2 separate regions of the Homo sapiens genome follow, and region 2 is linked to region 1. The links are contacts of gene promoters, found by promoter capture Hi-C in human tissues and cell types (Jung and others, 2019). All regions are on one chromosome and are shown on one strand. Each heading gives the region's core, a stretch centred on a gene start or on the middle of the fragment in contact. The rest is flanking DNA. Distances are from core to core; before and after follow the strand shown. Region 1 holds the start of KCNK6 (potassium two pore domain channel subfamily K member 6). Region 2 overlaps SIPA1L3 (signal induced proliferation associated 1 like 3).

Region 1 (6,475 bases), core at 3,520-6,019:
GGCAACTTCCAGGAAGGGTCCTTAAGGAGCGAGGGATGCCAGTCTCCCTTCTTTCCTCCCTCCTCTTGCTGGCTGGAGCACAGACATGGAGGCTGGAGCTACACAGCCATCTTGGACCATTAGGCGACCTTGGGAATGGAAGTTGCGCAGAGGAGTTAGGCAGGAACACCAGGGTTTTGCTGAGAAGGAGCCTAGGTCTCTGACCATGCAGTACGACTTGGACTGACTACCTGGAATGTGAACAAGAAATACACTTCTTATTTAAGCAACTGTAATTTGAGGTGTATCACTTATGACCCCCAACCCTCATTAATACAAGGGTTTTTGATGGGGAAACTCCAGCAGCCTGGCAGGTTTGCAAATGACATGAAATCCTTATAAACAGGCTGGGTGAGGTGGCTCATTCCTATAATCCCAGCACTTTGGGAGGCCAAAGTGGGAGGATTACTTGAGCCCAGGAGTTTGACACCAGCCTGGGTAACATAGCAAGACCCTATCTCTGTAAAAAAAAATAATAATAATAAAAGAGATCTTTATAAATAGACAAATCATAGAGTTTGAAAAGCATGGGGCCTGTGAGCCTCAAGTTACTATTTCAAAGAGAAGAGTCCAAAACAGTGTTTTGCCATTTACTCCCTGCATGACTTTGGCCAGATGACTTCTCCCCTCTGAGGCTCAGTTCCCTCTCTGCAAAAATGGGCTCGTAAGCAATCCCTTCCTGGCCAGGCAAGGTGGCTCACACCTGTAATTCCAGCACTTTGGGAGGCCAAGGCAGGAGAACCGCTTGAGCCTAGGAGTAGTTTGAGACCAGCCTGAGCAACATAGGGAGACCACCTTCTACAAAAAATAAAAAATAAAAAAATTAGCTGGGTGCAGTGGCGTGCACGTGTGGTTCCAACTACTCAGGAGGCTGAGGTGGGAGGATCACTTAAGCCCAGGAGGTCAAGGCTGCGCCACTGCACTCTAGCCTGGGTGACAGAGCAAGACCCTGTCTGAAAAACAAAAAACAATCCCTTCCTCAAATGTGGTAGTAATCCTACTAGGCTGGGATAGGGCATAGTGCCTAGCAAGAGCGTGGAAAGAGTTACAAGGATTGTAATGCTCACTTCCTCTCTCCGATTCCCAGTTCCGGGTAGGACTACCCGCTTCCTCCTGCCTCAAGTGCAGCAAGGCTGCCCAGATCAATTCCAGGGCCAAGATTTGGGCCTATGACCAAACGAGGGGCATTGTGGGAAGAGGTCTCTCTGAATCACGTTTAATTGGTTTTCCACTTCTCCAGATGCATTCAAGGCTTCACCCACTATGAAAACAGTCAACATTAACTCAATAAACATCAGTTATTACCAGCGCTTCGCACGGACAAAGACTCCCTCCTTGACCGCACTTCAGTCTGACTCCTGAGTCCTTAAGTAGGCCCAGTTTTAGCAAGAATCCTACAAGCCACCCACCCCGATATCTGATCAAATTCCTCATCCACCACTCTTTTTTGTTTGTTTGTTTTGAGACAGAGTCTTGCTCTAACGCCCAGCCTGGAGTGCAGGGGCGAGATCTCGGCTCACTGCAACCTCCGCCTCCCAGGTTCAAGTGATCCTCCTGCCTCAGCCTCCCAAGTAGCTGGGATTACAGCCACGCACTATCATGCCTGGCTAATTTTTGTATTTTTAGTAGAGATGGGGTTTCGTCATGTTGGCCAGGCTGGTCTCGAACTCCTAACCTCAGGTGATCCGCCCGCCTCAGCCTCCCAAAGTGCTGGGATTCCAGGCGTGAGCCAACTTGCCCGGCCTGTTTTTTGTTTTTTTGAGATGGAGTCTCACTCTGTTGCCCTGGCTGGAGTGCAGTGGCACAATCTCAGCTTATTGCAACCTCTGCCTCCCAGGTTCAAGTGATTCTCCTGCCTCAGCCTCCCGAGTAGCTGGAATTACAGGTGCCTGCCACAATGCTCGGTTGATTTTTGTATTTTTAGTAGACGGGGTTTCACCATGTTGGTCAGGCTGGTCTCGAACTCCTAACCTCAGGTGATCTGCCCACCTCGGCCCTCCAAAGTGCTGGGATTATAGGCGTAAGCCACTGCGCCTGGCCCTCATCCACCCCCTCTCAATATCTAAGTCCTTGGCCTGTCTTTAGCAAGAATCTTGTTAAGCTGAGTTTAGCAAGAATCCCCCTACCCGAATGTCTCTCCTCTTAGTATTCTTCCATCCACTGACTCCCTTATTCTACTTGTTAGCCATAAAACTCCAGCTGTGTTTGCTATATTCACAGTTGAGTTCAGTCTCTCTGGCCTTTGCAATGGTCTCTCCTCTACCACAATAACTTTCCATTTTTAACAAGTGTTAGCATATTTTTTTCTTTTACAACACACACAGCACCCTTCTTCTAAGTAGTGTGGTGTGTTGGCTAGCAGCATGGGACTCTAGAGCCTGATGGCCTTGACTAAATCTCTACTCTATGCCGTCTTTGCTGTGTGACCTTAGGAAAGTTACCCAACTTCTCTAGGCTTCGGTTTCCATGGCTAAAAATATACAGCCTATAAAGGCGCCTGCCTCACAAGGCTGTTGTGATGATTAAGTGAGTTAAAGCATGCATTGGCAAGTCCTCTGTCAGGCTACTGCTATTACAGGGAAATGGGGAGTGTTATTATCTCCATTTTAGCAATGGGGGAGGACACTGAGGCCTGGCAATGAGCCGCGGCTGAGCAGGGATGTAGCCAGGCTGTGCCTGACGTGTGTCTGGCTTCCCTCATCTGCCCTGCCAGGGATGACTTCTTAGAAGCCAGGATCTGGGAAGAGGTAGGAGGCGTGCACATGACCCAGGGAAGCTCAGAAGCAGGTCAGGCCGCCCTGGCAGCATGGGCAGACCCAGGGGAGGTCAGCTAACGAGAAGTCACCCAGCTCTGCTGCCAGGGGACCAAAAGCAAAAGCTGCCCCCTATTGTTGGCCGGGAGGGCGAGTTAGGAGTCTGGGCTAACCCTGCACCAGCCTCCTCTCCTCAACAAATCCCCAACAAAGAAACAAAGAGGAAGTCTGGGAGCTGAGAAGGGGCTGGGGGAGCAGCAGAGCCTGGCAACAAAGAGATTTCCCAAGTCTGGCTTCTCAGGGTTTCCCAAAACTCGGGGTCCCTCCACGGTGGGTCCTTTTGACACATCCCTAGCTGGGGCTGCTGAATTGGGAGTCCCAGGTCCAGAGGGAACAGGTGGTGTCCCTATTGGGAGGAAAATCCTGCATTGAGAGTGACCCCATATAGGGGAGATGTCAAGATGGGGTGGGGTACCTAGGGAAGGGTTTTGTGTCTGGGGTCAGAGTTGCCTGCTGGGGAGTATGGGGCCAGGAGACAGATGACAGTCTGGAGCAGAGGCCCAGGTCCAGAGGGCCAGGAGTCCCAGATGGCGGTGCCAGGTCCTTGCTGAGGAATCTCTGTTGGGAGGGAGGTCTTTAGTGAGGACACCCTGAGAGGTCTGGAGATTTAGGGTCCTCGCTAAGGCGCCAGGGTCAGGAGGAGGTTGAGATGGGGTTTCTCCAGGGGGGTTTCCCAGAAGGACATATCTGGAGGGTCAGGAGACATGGCAAGGGTGGCAGGCCCAGACTAGAGATAAAGTCAGGGGTCCTGGCATGGTTGAGTTCTGGGTCCAGAGGGGGCAAGGATCTCCCTTGGAGGGTGGCGTGTCCTGGGTCCTTGCTGGAGGTCTCTGAGGACAGTCCTAGGCTTAGAGGGGGCTGGACAGACCCGGGTCACCAAGAGGATTAAGACCGGGGAATGCAGTCCCAGTGCAGTGGCTCAAGCCTGTAATGCCAGCAATTTGGGAGGGCGAGGCGGGCTGATCACCTGAAGTCAGGAGTTTGGGACCAGCCTGGCCAACATGGTGAAACTCCGTCTCCACTGAAAATACAAAAATTAGCCAGGCATGGTGGTATGTGCCTGTAATCCCAGCTACTCGGCAGGCTGAAGCAGGAGAATAGCTTGAAACCGGGAGGCGGAGGCTGCCGTGATCCGAGATCGTGCCACTGCACTCCAGCCTGGGCGACAGAGTAAGCCCTGTCTCAAAAAAAGAAAAAGAAAAGAAAAAAAAAAAAGACCGAGGAACGGGGTCCCAGCTGGTCTCTGCAAAGGTACTCTGAGGGGAGCTGGGTGTTTCCTACTTAGGAGGAAGGGCTCGGACTTGGGCTCCCCGAGCAGAGCAGATATCATGAGCCTGGGTCCCGGGTCCTCACTGGGGTCTTTTCGGGGGATCCGAAGCCCAGAGGGGATTGGGATAAGGGTATTCGTGAGGGCCCCGGGGTCCCCAGGGGTTAAGGATGAAGTGGGGATCCCGGGTCCTCGCCGCCTTGCGGTGAGGCGCTTACGTACCCACGGTGGTGATCAGCGTGCTGGCGAAGAAGAGAGCAGAGGCGAAGTCCCAGGCGGGGTCCGAGGCGTTGGCGGACCCCGAAGCGTTAGCAAGCACGACCCGCCCCAGCCGTCCGGCCGCCAGCACTCGCTCCACGAAGGCGTCCAGGGCGGGGGCAGCCACACACGGGCTGCGCTGAAGCAGCTGCGCCCGCAGCGTCTCCAGCTCGGCTCGGAGCCTGGCTTCGTGCGGCCCCTCCAGCCGCGCCACCAACAGCGCGCCCAGCACCAGGTACGCGGCGTACGCGGCCAAGGCGCCCGCCAGAAGCGCGCCCCTCCGCATGGCACCCACCGGGACCCCGCGAGCCCTGGGTGGCCCCGCTGACGTGGCCCCCGCCTCCGGACCGTCTGGCACCTAGTTCCAGTTCCGGGAGTGCTACAGGCGCGGCAGCAGATGCCCCAAGAGGAAGAGGAAAAAGGGGAGGTGGGGGGCGGCGACGGAGGAATGCCCCGCCTCCGGGAAACTGAGGCACGCCCAACCGCCAGGTGTTCGTTCGGAGAGGGTGGAGCCCAGTGCTCCCAGACCCAGCAGACCAACGGGATGGAAAGGGTGGAGGTAGTCCTCTCTTCCCCTCATTCCTTCCTTCTCGTCCTCCTGGAAGGCTGGTTCTCTATGTTAGAAGAATCTGAACTTTCCTCTCTGCTCGCAGGCCGAGGAGTCGCCCCCCATCGCGCACAGCAGCTAAGGTTGTGCACTGCATCAGGGCGCGCGGCTGACGGAGCAAGGGGCAAACTGAAATCCAATTCTCGCTCCATTCGCCAAGTTGTGAGCCTCGGAGTGGGAACAGCGGACACCACAGAGTCAGGTGTCCCCTGTGCCCGTGTGGACAGAGTGGGGATCCTCAGCTACTCACCAAAGCTTTGTTCAATGCCCACTTTCTGCTGACCCCTCGCTGGATGATCCTGGAGACTCAGTAATGATGAGACCATCCTGCGCCATGCATTCATGGGGCTCCCAGTCTAACTGGGAGACTGACACAAGAGTGACCCACGCCTGTTGTCCCAGCTACTCGGGAGGCTGAGGTCGGAGGATTGCTTGAGCCCAGGAGTTCGAGGCTGCAGTGAGCTATGCCTGGGAGAGAGTGAGACCCTATCTCTAAAAAAAAGAAAAAAGACAGCCCAGAGTGGTCAGGGCTGTGATGAGGGAAGCAAGGGTACAATGATCAAGCCTGGAATCAGGGAGCCCTAGAGGGCCCTGGGAGTCCAGAGGAAGCAACCACCCCTGCCTAGGGAGGTCAAGAGAGCTTCCTGAGGAAGGGGCTAGCTGAGCTGAAGCATGAAGGATGAATGGAAACAAGCCAGGCAGAATCACAAATACACGCCTCTATTTAAGAGGAAATTTTTCTTTCTGCGCCCCCCCGTAAGTCTCTCCACTTCTGCCTCCAGCCAGAACTCAGCGCCTTCCTGACAGCCTTTTGGAGGGCAGCCCAGAGTCCTAACCCCATCCGACTGGCAGAGGAGTGGGGCTTGGGGCTCAGCTCAGACATGTCCCAGCTGGTTCTATTAAAGAGCTGGCAGATCACCGGGCAGAGCCCAACTTGGGGTTGACAATCCAGAAGCAGAGGCACCTGATAATAGAATCAGTAACACAATAGGTGCCAGTGATCGAAGGCTTACATTCTGCCAGGCCCTGTGGACACCTGAACTTGCACTGAATTCTCAACCCCGTCCCAATATAATTCCCACTAAACAGATGAGAAAATTTAGGCTTAAAAATGAAGTAGTCATTTGAGACCAGCTCGGGCAACATGGCAAAACCCCATCTCGACAAAAAATACAAAAATTAGCCAAGTGTGGTGGCATGCGTCTGTAGTCCCAGCTACTCGGGAGGCTGAGGCAGGAGGATCGTTTGAGCTCAGGAATTAGAGACTGCAATGAGTTATGGTCGCACCACTGCACTCCAGTATGGGTGATAGAGTAGACCCTGCCTCAAAAAAATAAAAAGTAGTAGTCACACAACTGGTAAGGGGTGAACATGAGGCCAGCAGGAAGCCAATGAACTAATGAACTTGCTTTTTTTTTTTTTTTTTTTTTTTTTTTGAGACAAGAGTCTCGCTCTGTCTCCCAGGCTGGAGTGCAATGGCACAATCTCGGC
Region 2 (6,200 bases), core at 2,754-5,253, 180 kb after region 1:
GAACAAAAGCAGTACAGTGGAGTGGGGGTAACCTTTTCAATAAATAGCACTGGAGTAAATCAGACAACCATAGGCAATAAAGGAACCTCAACCTAAACCTCTCACCTTACACAAAAATTAAAACAAACAAATCTCAAAATGGATCATGGACTTAAATGTAAAAGAGTAAAACTTCCAGAAAAAAAAACGAGAAAATCTTCAGGACCCAGCACTAAGCAGAGTTCTTAGACAACACCAAAAACCTGATCCATAAAATAATAATAAAAAAAAGATAATTTGGGCTTTATCAGAATAAAAAACTTAGGCTGGGTGTGGTGGCTCATGCCTATAATCCCAGCACTTTGGGAGGCCAAGGCAGGAGAGTCACTTGATTTAGCCCAGGAGTTTGAAACCAGCCTGGCCAACATGGTGAAACCCTGTCTCTACTAAAAATACAAAAATTAGCTGGGAGGGTTGTGCGTACCTGTAATCCCAGCTTCATGGGAGGTTGAGGCATGAGAATCGCTTGAACCTGGGAGGCAGAAGTTGCAGGGAGCCGAGATGACACCACTGCACTCCGGCTTGGGCAACAGAGCAAGACTCCGTCTCAAAATAAATAAATAAATAAAAATAAAAAATAAAATAAAAAACTTTTGTTCTGTGAAAGACCCTGTAAAAAAGACAAACTAAAGGCTGGGAGGAAATATTTGCAAATCGCATATCTGACAAAGGACTTGTATTTAGAATGTCCAAAGAACTCTTAGACACAGAACACCATCACACCCAATTAGAAGACGCACAAAAGACACGCACAGGCACTTCACTGAAGAGGATACAGGGGTGGCAAATAAGACATGAAAAGGTGTTCAATATCCTTAGCCATTAGGAACATGCAAATTAAAATCACAGTGAGATATCACTGCACACCTATCAAAAGTAGCTAAAATGAAAAACAGTGACAACGCCAAATGGTGAGGATGTGGAGACCCGGATCACTCACGCTCTGCTGGTGGGAATGTAAAATGATACAGACACTCTGGAAAACAGTTTGGCAGTTCCTTTTCAAACTAAAAATGGACTTACCATACGGTAAGCAATTGTACTCCTGGGCATTTATCCCAGAGAAATGAAAACTTATTTTCATGCAGAAACCTGTATGCCTGAATGTACATGTTCACCGCATGAATATTTATAATAGCCAAAACTCGGAAACTACCCAAATGTCTTTTTAAATCTTTTTAAAATATATTTTTAATATTTTAAAAAACTTTATTTCAACCCAGCAGCATAGATTCAAAGTGCCCTGAATATGCACTCCCCCAAATGTCTTTTGATGGGTGAGTGGTTAAACTGTGGTATATCTAGACCACGGAATAAACAGCATAATGAGTGAACTAGAGACTCGCGACAACGTGGATGAACCTTAAGGACATTCTGCTGAGTGAAAAAGACAACCTCTGAAGCATACGTACATCTGATTCTTTTTATCTAACATTCATCATGAAATAACAATAATTAAAAGACAGGTTGGGTGTGGTGGCTCACGCCTGTAATCCTAGCACTTTGGGATGTCCAGGTGGGAGGATGGCTTGAGGCAAGGGCTTCAAGATCAGTCTCAGCAACACAGCGAGACCTTGTCTCTATGAAAGAAAAGAAAAATTGGCTGGGTGTGGCGGTGCATGCCTGCAGTCCTAGCTAATTGCAAAGCTGAGATGGGAGGACTGCTTGGGCCCAGAAGAGTGAGGCTTCAGTGAGCTATATGATCGTGCCATTGCACTCCAGCCTGGCTGACAGAGTGAGACTTTGTCTCCAAAAAAAAAAAAGAGCCTCAGAACAGATGAATGGTGAATGGTTGCCAGGGGTTAGGCACAGGGGGAAGAGATGGGTGTGGCTATAAAAGGGTAGCATGAGGCACCTCGTGATGGTTACACAACACTTCACATGTGATAAAATTGCACAGAGCTACAGACACACACACACAAATGAGTGCATGTATAACTGGTGAATTTTGAATAAGCTGTAGGCCTGTACCCATGTCAACCTCTTGCTTTGATATTGCGTTATAACCATACAAGATGTTAACAATAGGGGAGGCTGCGTGAAGGGTTCAGGTTCACAAGACCTCCCTGTATTCTTTTTTTTTTTTTTTTTTTTGAGACGGAGTTTTTGCTCCTGTTGCCCAGGCTGGAGTGCAGTGCCACAGTCTTGGCTCACTGCAACCTGCACCTACCAGGTTCAAACGATTCTCTCGCTTCAGCCTCCTGAGTAGCTGGGATTACAGGCGCGTGCCACCACACCCAGCTAATTTTTTGTATTTTCAGTAGAGACGGGGTTTCATCATGTTGGCCAGGCTGGTCTCGAACTCCTGACCTCAGATGATCCACCGATCTCGGCCTCCCAAAGTGCAGGGATTACAGGCGTGAACCACTGTGCCCGGCCACCTGTATGTTTTTTTTGGCAACTTCCTGTGACTCAGTAATTATTACAAAATAAAAAGTTAAAATAATAAAGGCAGATACCAAGACTTTAGGAGAAAACAACAACAACAACAACAGTTCCCAAGAGCTTTCGGTAACACCACTGCCACCACCTTTGTTACTGGTGAGTCACTCTGACTGCCATTTCCAACCTCAGCCCCTGCTGTCACCTGGGTGCCCCCACACCCCATGTCCCGCACACACCCGATTCCTCTCTGATTCTCCTGTGTTTCACAGCATCCTGCTTGTTCATATCTGTGGCCTTTACTCTGTTTGGAATGACTTTTTCTCTCCTCTCTGTCGCAGACTCCTATTAGTCCCTCAAACTTCTGTTCAGATGTCACCTCCTCCAGGCAGCCAGTCTAGACCTCCAGTGCTGGGCTGTGTTCCCTCTTCCTCTATTAGAGTGCTCATCAGAGTGCACATGGTTTTTACGATCCTCTCCATCACAGTCAGCAAGGGCTGACTACAGAACCCCCTCGTAATTGAGTATCTCAAATACTCCTCCTGGCACGCCAGAAAGCTCTTGAGACCCTTTGCTGAATGAAAGCTGAATGGTGGCTACTAGAAGAAGAAACAGTGGGCGTGTTTCTCCAATTGAACAAGAGGCTTAGAATCTAACAATGGATGACTGTGGTGACTCTCAGAGAATGGTCCCTGGTGCAGCACCCCGAACCTACCAGGTCAGAAATTTGGGGCTCAGGCCCAATAATCTGTATTTTAACAAGTCCTCCTCTGGGTGATTCCAATGCCTGCTAAAGATTGAGAACCACTGGTTTGGTGGCCTGATCCCTGGTCTTAAGGCAGGTGGTTTCATTTTAACAAACCCACTCACTCCATCCTTTCATCCAATATATACCAAAGATCAGCCATGTGTCGGACTGTGTACTATGTGATGGGAGGTCTTGAAGAGCACGCTTACCCTCTCTGTCTCTCTCTCGCTCTCTTACAGGTGCACATACATGCACGTGCGCAAGCACACACACTCTTAGCTGGCTAATAAGGATGAAGAGTGCTCAAGGCCACAGTCAGGAAATACACAGGAATTGGGGGGCAGTGCCTTGCCTCAAGAGGGAGCTCCAGAGAAGGGTTCTGGAGAGGGGCACAGAAGCTTGAGTTGGTAGGATGGGGGGAGTGTGGGCGAGGAGTGTGAAGCATATTCAGGCCAAGGAAGGAACACCATCAAGGCTCTGAAATACAGACAGTCCCCCTAGGAAGCTGGGAGTGGCCAGTGTGGCTAAAGTGTGGCACTGCACGAGACTCGCAGGGGCCCTGGTGGCCACAGGGAGGGGCCAAAGCTGTGTCCTGAGGGCTCTGGGAGTGGTGGGAGGGTTTGGAGCAGGGGACAGGCATGTTCAGGTATAGAAAGATCTGGCCAGGTGCACGGGCTCACACTTGTAATCCCAGCACTTTGGGAAGCTGAGGCAGGCGGATCGCTTGAGGCCAGGAGTTTGAGACCAGTCTGGCCAGCATGGTGAAAATCCGTCTCTACTAAAAATACAAAAATTAGCTGGGCGTGGTGGCGAGAGCCTGTAGTCCCAGCTACTTGGGAGGCTGAGGCAGGAGAATCACTTGAACCCGGGAGGTGGAGGTTGCAGTGAGCTGAGATTGCGCCACTGCACTCCAGTCTGGCGACAGAGTGGTCTCAAAAAAAAAAAAAAAAAAAAAAGACACAGAAAGATCCCTCTGGCTGTTGAGTGTTGAGTGGAGGGTAGACCAGGGGAGGTGAGATGAAGGCTGGAAGCCCACTGTGGTGGCCTGGGCAAGAGAACAGGGAAAGGAGGAGAGGGTGGGTGACAGAGATGCTCAGGAGGAGGACCACTGCAAGGAGGAGGAGGAAGGGGACATTCACAGGATGAGGGCCACAGCTCAGGCCCAAGGACTAGGATTGATGTGGCTGCCCCTGAGACAGGGACCTGGGGGCAGAGGAAGAACAGAGGGCACGAGGGCTGAAGGCAGCTGGGGAATAAGCTCAGCCGGAGCCAGAGCCTGAAGGGCCTTGAATGCCAAGTTTATCCTGAGGGCACTGGGGAGCCATGGAGGGTTTGGGGAGATCTCTCAGGCTGGTGGGGAGCCATGGAGGGTTTGGGGAGATCTCTCAGGCTGCCAGGTTGCAGATGGACGCAAGTGGGCAGAACTGAATCCTGAAAGATCTCGAAAACTGGGTAATGCTGGCAGCCTGGTCCTAGGGGCTTAGGGCTGGAGAGAGTTAGATGCATGGCCGTGCTGGATAGTGGATGCTCTTGCTTGACAGGTGTCAAGAGAACAGCAATCAAAATTCTGCTGCAAGGAAAGCCAACGATGGGTCCTGCCCAGCCCGGCCCAGTTTTGCTCCAAAACTTGAGACATAACCACCCCATGGGGCTCCTCTGAGGACCTTCAGGGGTCCAGAAACACCATAAAATGGCAACTAGAATTGTGGGGGTGTGCATTTGCTGGGGAAGAAGGAGGCACAGCTTTCATCAGATCCCTTAACATGAAAAGAATTGAGGGAGGCTGACCTTTCTGGGGATGGCTTGTATCTCACGTAGGTGGCCGAACCGGGGGTGGAGAAGCTCCCAGAAGGCTGTCGGTAGGGAGGGACTCTGTCGGCCCCTGCTGGTGATACTGTGTAAGGGGTTTCTGGGAAGCTGACAGGCCTAGAAGGAGACAGGGGAGGAAGGAGGCAGAGGGTGAGTAGGAGGGTACCCCTGCCCTGGGAGGATGGACGGACAGACAGATGGATGGACAGACGGACAGACAGACAGACCAACCGAACTTTCCCCCGCCCAGCCACATCCCTTCTGCTATTCACTGCTCAGGATGAAGGGGAGGATGCTGAGCACAGGGCGAGAGAAGCTGGGATGCTCCTGGGCCCCCTCTTCCCGGATCCACTGCGGCTGCCCGCAACTCACAGCTTCTGCAGGCTGCTCAAGACCATTCTCGCCTCTGCCCCCTGGGGACAAGATGTCCCTCTGCAAGTTGGATTCCTTCATTTTTTGGAAAATTTTCTTTTTATCTTTTAATATATAATATCTTCAAAAGAGTATCTGTTAAGTTATATTTGTCATCATCATAAAACAAACTCCCTGAAGCTACCAGCCAACCCCAGGACTAGAACGGTGGTGCTAACATCTACCTGTGGGCTTCCCCACTTCCCATTTCCCTGCCTCCTCCAGGAAGAAGTCACTGTCCTAAATTTTGTGCTTATCAGTCCCTTCACCTTAAAAATAACAGTTTTATTTTATTTTATTTTTCAGAGATAAGGTATTGCTCAGTCTGGAGTGCAGTGGTGCAATCACAGCTCACTGCAGCCTCCAACTTCTGGGCTCAAGCCATCCTCCCACCTCAGCCTCTTGGGCAGCTGGGACCACAGGTGTGCATCACACCTGGCTAATTTTTAATAAATGTTTTTTATAGAGCCAGGGTTCTGCTATGTTGCCCAAGCTCTCTAACTCCTGGCCTCAAGCAATGCTCCTGCCTTGACCTCCCAAAATGTTGGGATTACAGGCGTGAGCCACCGTGCCCAGCCTAAAAAGCAGAGCTTCAGTCGTCTACTTAGTATAATGGATTTCTAACCCAGAGCTCCCCAGCACTGGGTCCCCAGACAAGAGGCCAACGGTGAAAGCTGAAACGAAGGAGGGAGGGAGGAACAAGGGAGACATAAGGATAAGAAGGAAGGTCGAAAGCTTGAGGCGAGGAAGAGGATGGAGGAAATAGTGAGGAGAGGGAGGGGCGGAGGATGGGTGTGGGCTGGTGGGGGTT

What was found. Contacts are between HindIII fragments. The study calls those that stand out against the background at their distance.
Region 2: a contact is called between a fragment that was not itself captured here and the fragment with the promoter of KCNK6 in region 1, in 2 of the 25 tissues and cell types used here (bladder and dorsolateral prefrontal cortex).

Annotation. Positions count from the first base shown.
Region 1 is chr19:38,318,139-38,324,613 of GRCh38, reverse strand. It overlaps KCNK6 (potassium two pore domain channel subfamily K member 6), which reads right to left and starts at 4,769. Exons shown (of 3, transcript NM_004823.3): 1 at 4,342-4,769. The coding sequence starts at 4,663. It also overlaps a transcript of YIF1B not described here. RefSeq lists a silencer at 4,587-4,676 and an enhancer at 4,318-4,941. The HindIII fragment of the contact is 11,421 bases long and covers 1-6,475 here.
Region 2 is chr19:38,141,468-38,147,667 of GRCh38, reverse strand. SIPA1L3 (signal induced proliferation associated 1 like 3) reads right to left here. Exons shown (of 22, transcript NM_015073.3): 12 at 4,958-5,095. Among named protein-coding and RNA genes, the nearest start is that of SNORD152, 19 kb to the left of the region's middle. RefSeq lists an enhancer at 3,288-4,137. The HindIII fragment of the contact is 6,489 bases long and covers 759-6,200 here.